Linked DNA regions of Homo sapiens: all the other regions are linked to region 3. Evidence: promoter capture Hi-C in human tissues and cell types (Jung and others, 2019). All regions are on one chromosome and are shown on one strand. Each heading gives the region's core, a stretch centred on a gene start or on the middle of the fragment in contact. The rest is flanking DNA. Distances are from core to core; before and after follow the strand shown. Region 1 overlaps COL23A1 (collagen type XXIII alpha 1 chain). Region 2 holds the start of TRIM52 (tripartite motif containing 52). Region 3 holds the start of RNF130 (ring finger protein 130).

The links. Contacts are between HindIII fragments. The study calls those that stand out against the background at their distance.
Region 1: a fragment that was not itself captured here is called in contact with the fragment with the promoter of RNF130 in region 3 in 1 of the 25 tissues and cell types used here (lymphoblastoid cells).
Region 2: the fragment with the promoter of TRIM52 here is called in contact with the fragment with the promoter of RNF130 in region 3 in 1 of the 25 tissues and cell types used here (heart left ventricle).

Annotation. Positions count from the first base shown.
Region 1 is chr5:178,272,230-178,275,154 of GRCh38, reverse strand. All of the region lies in intron 5 of COL23A1 (collagen type XXIII alpha 1 chain), which reads left to right. Among named protein-coding and RNA genes, the nearest start is that of PHYKPL, 41 kb to the right of the region's middle. The HindIII fragment of the contact is 7,558 bases long and covers 1-2,925 here.
Region 2 is chr5:181,259,721-181,262,703 of GRCh38, reverse strand. TRIM52 (tripartite motif containing 52) reads left to right here and starts at 1,561. Exons shown (of 2, transcript NM_001346048.2): 1 at 1,561-2,703. The coding sequence starts at 1,891. It overlaps TRIM52-AS1 (TRIM52 antisense RNA 1), which reads right to left and starts at 1,492. Exons shown (of 3, transcript NR_102762.1): 1 at 1,320-1,492. RefSeq lists silencers at 931-1,180, 1,291-1,440 and enhancers at 1,581-1,630, 1,811-1,860. The HindIII fragment of the contact is 18,434 bases long and covers 1-2,983 here.
Region 3 is chr5:180,069,701-180,073,054 of GRCh38, reverse strand. It overlaps RNF130 (ring finger protein 130), which reads left to right and starts at 1,296. Exons shown (of 9, transcript NM_018434.6): 1 at 1,296-1,599. The coding sequence starts at 1,353. RefSeq lists a silencer at 946-1,025 and an enhancer at 915-1,622. The HindIII fragment of the contact is 8,378 bases long and covers 1-3,354 here.

The sequences.
Region 1 (2,925 bases), core at 370-2,869, 1.8 Mb after region 3:
AATGAGGAAACTGAGGCTCGGGGACACCCCAGTCCCTGAGCAAAGCAAGGGACTGAGGCAGCACCAGGGCTGGGGGAGGGCTGCCCATCCGGGGTCCCAGGACAGGTGGCCGCCTGGCCTGCTGCTCATGTGCAGCCCAGAGCTTTGTTTGTTTCTCACACATCCGGAAACATCCCGGAGCCCGGCTGATCTCCATGGGGAAAGAGTGATTTAAAGCAGAACCAAGGCTTGTAAACAGCTGTGGGGTTTCTCAGAGGGCAGAAGGCGTTGAAAACCTCTGGTGGATTCAAGGGCTTTGATCAGGCAGGGGAGCGAGCTGGACAGTCATGAGCATCTCCAGGCACAGTGCTGTGGCATCCATAGATGAGGAAGCTGAGGCTCAGAGGAGGGATTTGAACCTGGGCCCTGCAAGGCTGAGCCCTGGCCTTCGCTCTGTGAGCTGGTGGTAAACCTCCCCGAGCTACTTTCCTTCCCACTCCTTCTGTGGGAGATGCTGGGAGAGGAACGGGGCAGCTGATGGCCGGTGCCCTATTGTCTGGGGCAGGGGAGGGCTGCCTAGATAGGGGAGACCCCCCCCACACCCAGCCAACCACCACCCAAGGCATGCCCCCGCCCAGTCTGGGGCTCTGCCCTTCCAGACCGCCCAGCTGCTCAGAACAGCCCTCATTCTCCTCAGAAGGACTTCCCTCGGGCTTAGACACTTGGACACTTGCCCTGCCATGCCTCTGTCCAGCCTGACCACGCCCCCCACCCCATGCATTCCTTGGCTCCATTCAGACCAGCCCCAGGCCCTTCCCTGAGGCGCTTGTCCTCCTCTCAAGAGCACCCAGAGCCAGGCTCAGCCCCCACTCCACCAGTAGAAACACCTGGTTTGTAGATGGTCTGCACAGCCTCACGCCTCAGTTGCTTTGCGTGACTCAGCCAGGCACTGAGTGCATTGAGGCTGAGTCCACTGAGCCCATTGCAGGGGTGGAAGGAGCACTGTCCTTTCAAAGACCCACAAACTAAAATGACGGCTCAGACAGCCCTGCAGGAAAGAAACCTGTTCCGCAGAGTGTAACCCAGTGTTTCTCAGACTTACTCAACCGTGGAATCCCTGTCTCCAGGCAAGCCTGTTGGCACCCTGCAGGGCAGTGTGCTGTGGGACACCAGTTTGGGAAAGGCATTCTGTAGGGTAACTGTGGGCAGGGTCCATCCCCTGGAGGTTCACAGCCCAGGGTCCTCCGGCCCAGAGGGCTGGCCCAACTTCCCCAGGACAGGAGGGGAGGTCAGAATCACATCCCCAAGCCAGGTAGGTGCATCTGACTCCAAAGCCAGGCTGTTCCTTCCCGGCCCACCTCGGAGTCCCCTCCTCAGTGACCATACCCACCCAGCAGCTTCTCCAAGGTCAGCCACTGCCCCACACAGAAAGCTCGGGGGCCTGGGGACAGCTTTCTTGCCCAGGTGTCATCCTGGCTGTGGGTCGGCTCTGTCCCAGGGGCTGGCCCAGCCCCGTCTGCTGTGTCAGTTTTCACACAGGGAGCTTCAGTGCCGGTGCAGGCACAGGCTCGGCTTCCGAGAATTGGACTTGACTTCCCTTCAGCCCTTGGTGGGGGCTCCCGGGAGCACTGCGCACACTGCACCCTCTGCCTCTATTGGGAAGCTACACACTGAATTCACTTGTAAAAACTCCCAGAGCTCTCTGATCACAAATACAGGCAGGGCGTTTGGTGTAAAAATTGGTTTTCTGTCACGGACGGGGCTTCTCACACATCAGAAAGAAGCCTCGGGGACCAAAGGCTGCGCCATCAGTGACCCCCCAGGAACAGTCCTAGCTTGACAGAGGGCAGCGTCCAGCTCAGGAGGCAGGAGGCCTGCAGCCATAATAAGGTCCAGTCGGTGGACACTTCCAGAAACAGCCGGCAGCACTGAGATGCTCCCTCTGGGGTTGAGGCCAAGGGGACAGCCTGGGCTCCCTTCCACGGGCACTTCTAGAAAGGCAGAGCCCTGTGGCTCTGCGTGCTTCACATCCAGGGGGCCTTGGTTGCAGGGAGGATTTAACAGAGGTTTCCGAGGCCTAGAGCAGGAGAGAGCGGCCGGGAGGCCAGACAGCACCGCGGCACGGGCCTGCAGTGCAGACAGGATGGAGACCCAGGGCCCAGACCTCTCCAGCTGCATGGCCCTAGGCAAGGTCTTCCCCTCACTGGGCCTCAGTTTCCTTCTCCGTAAGATGGGGATGATGACACGTACCTTACAGGGTTGCTGTGTGACTGAGACTGAGTGGGGGCCACGAAGAGCTCCTTGAAGAGACCCAGGAAGGACTGGCGGCCATGTGTGTGGGGTCAGGCCTGGGGGAAGGGTCCAAGGTGGGGATGCCTAGTGGGACGCGACCTTGAGGACACCCAGCAGGGCTTGGGTCGGGGGGTAGGGGGACAAGGGGCAGGGCCAAATTTAGTGTACTACCGAGGGCAGAAGGCCTGGGGGTGTGGACCCCAGGATCAGGACAGCCGGGAACTGGCAAGAGGACACTGTCCAGCTAGGGCAGCTCCTGGGAGGCTCATGGCAAGGACTAGAACTATGCCTGTGATGGAGGCTGAGGCCCTGACCCGGGGCCCCCAGGGCCTGAATCCCCAAGACTTTGGAATGCCCCCACTCCCACTCTCCTGGGACCCCAGCTGTCACCAGGCCATCACTCTGATGGCCAAACCCTCAGCGACCATGAGACTGGTGGCCAGAAGCCCTTTGACACCAATTTTTAGAACTGCCTGGTTTCCTGCTGCCAGCAAGGCCCTGGCCGCGAGCCCCACGTGGAGTGGCCACTCTCACACCGTCTGGGAATGGGCAGATGGGCCATCTCCATACGAGGCAGTCTGGAGGTTGAGCCAGGGAAGCCAGCAGCTTACCTCCTACCTGGCAGGCACGAGGCCAGCTCCCAGCTGTGTCCAG
Region 2 (2,983 bases), core at 312-2,811, 1.2 Mb before region 3:
ACCAGGCCACAGGAGAAGGCATACACAGAGCCCATGAGCACCAGCCCCTCTGAGCTGCGTCCAGCCCCCATCTCCATCCTCTGTTCTCTGGGACTACAAATCCAGGCCTGACCTGGTTCTATCCCTACCTGCAGAGACAGAAGACAGAAGGAGACAACCCCTGAGAAGCCTTTCCCCAGGGCCTGATTCCCCCTCCCACTGTAAGATCTCTCAGCCCGCACTTTGGGAGGCCGAGGTGGGCGGATCACGAGGTCAGGAAATCGAGACCATCCTGGCTAACAGGGTGAAACCCCGTTTCTACTAAAAATACAAAAAAAAAAAAATTAGCCGGGCGTGGTGGCGGGCGCCTGTAGTCCCAGCTACTCGGGAGGCTGAGGCAGGAGAGTGGCGTGAACCTGGGAGGCGGAGCTTGCAGTGAGCCGAGATCGCGCCACTGCACTGCATCCTGGGCAACAGCCAGACTCCATCTCAAAAAAAAAAAAAAAAAAAAAAACCTCTCAGCCCTGGATCAGGTCCCCTCTCCAGGAAAGGTGACAGAGTGGAGTCTAAATGACACTGCCCTAGGGCCCCGCTGGGGTGGAAAACAGACCCAGACAGCGCCCCCAGCCCTCCCTCCCCAGGGAGGAGTGAAGGGCATAACAGACAGCGGAGGACACCGGGACAGGAAGGAGGGGCCAGCCGCTCTCAAACTAAGTCTAAACCACGGCGGTGAGGAAGTGTGGTCCCAAATCCAGCCCCCTCCCGGCCGAGCTCACAGAGCTCAGGGCTGGAACTCGGAACCCTGGCCCGACGCAGGCGGCAGCACCGAAGGGAACTTGAGCCCCGGCCCCCTCAGGGGACCCACGACCGGGGCGCAGCTTTGCTGGCAGACGCCGCAATACTGCGCAGCCGCGGCCCCGCAAGCAGAAACAGGGCTGGGTCTGAGGCCTACGTGGAGCTGGGGCCCGACGGCTCACGGAAGGCAGCGGGGGGCACTGGGCGCCCCGGATCCGAGCCTCCCGGGCGGCAGGCCCTCCCAGCTGTGCGGCGCCCGGATCCCCACAAAGGCACCCCAAGCGCGGACGGCGGGACGGGCGACAGCACCAGGGTGGTGTCCCAGGCTTCCCCACCGCCGCGGACCAACTCGGCCCCGGCCCGGGCGGGGCTTCCGGAGAGATTTATCCCCCTTCCCTCTAACCTTCCTGGGGCTCCGGCTCAGGCTGGACAACGGCTCGGAGACCCAGTCCCCCTCAAGTGTTGACCCCCCCACCATCTAGAACCAGCCAACCCACCAAACCACCTCTCCCAAGCCGGGCCTCTTCCCGGCGTCCGCCGCTGACCTGATCAGAGCCGCTCTGCCGGCCCGAGGGAGCTGAGAAGGGGCTTGGGAATGGGGTCTTGAGGAGGGGCTGGCCGGAATGTGCAGCACTAGCCCAGCTGGAGCGGGCGGCGCGGGCGCGCCTGTCCCCCAGCCCACCCAACTCCCGGCCCGCGCGGCCCCCGGCACACCATAGAGACGTGGTCCTCCGCCGGCCTAGAGCGTCTCTCCAGAGCGTGTGCAGGAGCGAGACGTCATTTTGCGTCGCCTCGGGCAGGGTAGCCAGCGGCTGCATCTGAGGCGGACGCCGCAGTGTAGGGCACACCCTGAGGGTAGCGAGAGACGTGACAGGACCGAGCAGCTGGGGGCTGCAGCCTGCTCTGTCCCCACCGATCCCAGAGAGAGGCTGTGAGTCTGGATCTGGGCGTTCGCACCCTGAGAGAGGGGGTCAAAGCTCCCCTGCGGCCCCGAGGAAGAAGAGCAAGGTTGAGGACAGCCTCGGGTCACCAGAGTAGTTTGGAGGCAGGCCTGCAGGCGCGTCCCCGCTCCTCAGCTCCAAGCTGACGTATCTACACCTGCCGGCGGGCATTAAGATGGCTGGTTATGCCACTACTCCCAGCCCCATGCAGACCCTTCAGGAGGAAGCGGTGTGTGCCATCTGCTTGGATTACTTCAAGGACCCCGTGTCCATCAGCTGTGGGCACAACTTCTGCCGAGGGTGTGTGACCCAGCTGTGGAGTAAGGAGGACGAGGAGGACCAGAACGAGGAGGAAGATGAATGGGAGGAGGAGGAGGACGAGGAAGCGGTGGGGGCCATGGATGGATGGGACGGCTCCATTCGAGAGGTGTTGTATCGGGGGAATGCTGACGAAGAGTTGTTCCAAGACCAAGATGACGATGAACTCTGGCTCGGTGACAGTGGTATAACTAATTGGGACAACGTAGACTATATGTGGGACGAGGAGGAAGAAGAAGAAGAGGAAGATCAGGACTATTACCTAGGAGGCTTGAGACCTGACCTGAGAATTGATGTCTACCGAGAAGAAGAAATACTGGAAGCATACGATGAGGACGAAGATGAAGAGCTGTATCCTGACATCCACCCGCCTCCTTCCTTGCCCCTTCCAGGGCAGTTCACCTGCCCCCAGTGCCGAAAGAGCTTTACACGTCGCAGCTTTCGTCCCAACTTGCAGCTGGCCAACATGGTCCAGATAATTCGCCAGATGTGCCCCACTCCTTATCGGGGAAACCGGAGTAATGATCAGGGCATGTGCTTTAAACACCAGGAAGCCCTGAAACTCTTCTGTGAGGTGGACAAAGAGGCCATCTGTGTGGTGTGCCGAGAATCCAGGAGCCACAAACAGCACAGCGTGCTGCCTTTGGAGGAGGTGGTGCAGGAGTACCAGGTGAGAGAAATGAGGGAATGTGGGGGGATGAAGGGAGTGGAAAGGTAACTAGGAGAGCTGAGGAATGAGTAGCATTCCTTTCCCACCTCCTCAGGTACTTAGTTGCTAAACTTCTCTTTATTTGATGAGGGAGACACGGTGGAGAGAGATGGTCATATGGGTAAAAAAGGAGACACAAAACCATGAAGATTGGGGCAGATTGGCTTCCCCAGAGGAAGCTGAACAGATAATATGACGGTCACTGGAAGCGGACCACTACTGCTAATACTGGCAGTCTACC
Region 3 (3,354 bases), core at 47-2,546:
CAAAGATCCTGTAAGTTCCTGAATTCGGCTGCACTGCCCCATTCTTCCTTTTAGCTGATACTTTATAGCGATGTGTATCTTTTAAACGCCATGGAGAGAGAAAATGAGAGTCGTGTGTGTGTGCGCGCGCGCGCGTTTCGGAAGGTGGAGGGGGGGTTCCCACTGCAACCCTCTGGTCCGGGGGCCCCTGGAGTAGTTCACCTAGTCACTAGAGCAGGGGCTCCCCAACCGCCCGGCCGCGGACCTGTACCGGCCCAGGGCCTTCGAGGAACCAGTAAGCGAGCAGGAGGTGAGTGAGCATCACCGCCTGAGCTCCGCCTCCTGTCAGATCAGGGCGGCATTAGACTCTCATAGCAACGTGAACCCGGCTGTGAACTGCGCATGCTTGGGACCTAGGTTGCCCACTTCTTACGAGAATCTAACGCCTGATGATCTGAGGTGGAGCAGCCTCATCCGGAAACCACTTCAACTCCCTCAGTCCCTGGAAAAACTCTCTTCCTGGAAACCCGTCCCCCAGTGCCAAAATGGTTAGGGACGGCTACCCTAGAGGTCTTTCCCAACCACTCGTGTCCCTGCAGGTCCGGGCCAGAGACATCCCCCATCCATGATGTCAACCGCATGACGTGAATGTTAAATCTCATGACATTTAATTTTAAACATTTCTTTTAAAGTTATGGCTTTTTTTCCTTTGTAGTCTGTTCTCACACATTTCCATACGTCCTCGCAAATCTCCCGGGCTCCACGCCCTGCGGCTATCACGCCTGACAGAGAAACAACCAGCACCAGCGGCTGACCCGGCTGCCCGGGCCCTCGTGCAGGCGGGCGGGAGCGGACAGGCCCTGGCACGCATGCGCTCGGGGCGGGACTGCGCCTTAGGCCTGCGCGTTGCCGCTAGACCAGCGGGGGGGCGGGGCGGCGGCGGACACGCGCCTCAGGCGGCAGCCGCGCGAGAGGGACTTTGTGTTCCGCTGACCCTCCTCGGGGCGCTTCCTCCCGTGCCGCCCTTCCCCTCCCCCGCCGCGTCCTTGCGAGGCGCCTCCCATTCGGTGGGACCGACCCGGGGGGATGGAGGGGGCACGCTTCTACAACCCTCCTGGGACCCCGAAGAGACGCCCGCGTGCGACCTGAGACGCCGCCCTCGCCGAGGGCCCATGGGCGCGTCCCCACAGGCGGGCAGTGGACGTGAGGGCGGCGAGCGGCGGGGCCGCGGCGTCCAGGAGGGCCGCGCTCGGGCTCGGCCCCGCGCAGGCCGCGCGCGCGCGCTCCCGCCGCCGCCCGGGCCGCGCCCGCCCCGCCTCTAGGCGCCGGCCCCGGAGCCCGGTCCGCGAGCAGCGGCGGCTGCCGGAGGGACGATGAGCTGCGCGGGGCGGGCGGGCCCTGCCCGGCTCGCCGCGCTCGCCCTGCTGACCTGCAGCCTGTGGCCGGCACGGGCAGACAACGCGAGCCAGGAGTACTACACGGCGCTCATCAACGTGACGGTGCAGGAGCCCGGCCGCGGCGCCCCGCTCACGTTTCGCATCGACCGCGGGCGCTACGGGCTTGACTCCCCCAAGGCCGAGGTCCGCGGCCAGGTGCTGGCGCCGCTGCCCCTCCACGGAGGTGAGTGCCGGCCCGGGGGCGGCGGGCGGTGGTCGCTGCATCCCGCGTAGGCGGCGGGACTAGGGTTCCCGGCCCCGGCTCTGGCCCTGGCTCTCCCGCGCTGCCCGGCCGACAGCCCCAGCCAGGGTCGAGGCTTCCGTCGTGGACAGCCCGGCCTGCTCCCGTGGGAACCAGGCTCCAGGAGCGTGACTGGGTTTTTCCCTTCTTTTAAAAAAGACTTGGAACGGTCATCTTTGCGTTCAGGCAGCTCGTTTGCTGGAGGGCATTGAGCTAGGAGTTTGCAGGGACAGCGTAGACAAAGGAGGTGGTGCAAGAGCGCAAAACTACTTCATGGGGAGGACGTCTCAGCCTGTATTTTGGAAGCGGCAGGTTCCTCAAATCACGGACTTAAGGCTGCGCTAGATCTGGAAGGATGCGGCCCTTTTCTAATATAAAAACGTGCCGTTTTTCTTAAGTGGTAAATTGGGGGGGGGGTGTAAATGGAAAATGGACATCTTCCCTGTTGCTTTTGGCTCTTGTTCTTGCCCTAGTAGTTTTACTGTAATTTGACGCCTGAAAATGTCACATTATGAGGATCTGACACTAATCGGAACTACTAGCCAAGGCTTTTCAGGTCACGGGTGCCGACCAAAAGGGAAATAGGTAAAATTTTCAAGAATTGTCTTTGAAACCATTCGGCTTAATGTCATGTTTTCCTATGAACAAGGACTTTGTTTAGTTGATTATTTGGTGTAAACATGTATTTGTTTAAATTATTAGTCATGGTTTGAAAGAAACCTTTTGCACATCGTGGAATATGATTTTTTGGGTTTTGGCCCACGCTGAACTTTTGGGAGATATCTGCCATTATCCCCACCCTCATTGTCACCCTGAGAATGCTGAGAGGGGATTTTTCTTTTCTAAACTGCTGTTCATGTTAGGATGACCTAAAGTAGGCAACCTAAATAAAGTCATGATTTGCTTGTACACTCTTAAGATACTAACATATTATGCCCCTCTGAGGTCTGTATTTGTATGCCAAAGTGCTAAGCTGTTTTCTTCTTTGAGACAGTCTGGCTGGGGAAAAATAATCACATAAGGCTTTTACTGTAGCCTGTCCGCAACTCAGACTAGGCTTTGAAAAGTCCGTTTTACACCAGTAATCAGGTGCTTAAGGTGCATATCTCATCTCTACTGTGTTAAAAATGGCAGTTAGGGTCCCAGCTTGGCCGTAGAAACAACTTTTGTCTTGGGTTCATTCAGTAAATATTTGCGTTCCTGCTCTGTGCCAGTCACTGTGGTTGAGATGCACAGTGTTGCCAGACTGGCAACTAACAATGGTAGCCTCTTTTCTGGTGGAGAGAACCGTGAGGGTCACGTGGAAGGGTAGAAAGAGGAAGGGGAGGCAAGCTGTTGTGGAGCAAGAGCTGGTCCTCTGCAGTGTTGTGAAATCTGTGGTTTGTCTTTGAGGCTTGGTTCCATCAGGCACCCCAAATCCATGGTCTGAACTTCAGATCCTTCCTCCACGGTGTTCGTGTGCTTCAGCTACTTGTTGCTTGCCTGTCACCCCAAACAAAAGCCCCGTCTTTGAGAAAGCTTGTTTTAGGTGTTTCTGTAGAAGGGTATTGGAAACTAACTCATGTGTATTGAGGTATGGATGAAGATTAGTCCTGTTCCCCTCTCAGTGGGGAGGCAGCATTGTAGGATTAAAGGTTCTGAGTCAGGCCTGTGCTTTACGTCCATTGTGTGACACTGTAAAAGTAACTCTGCCATTTA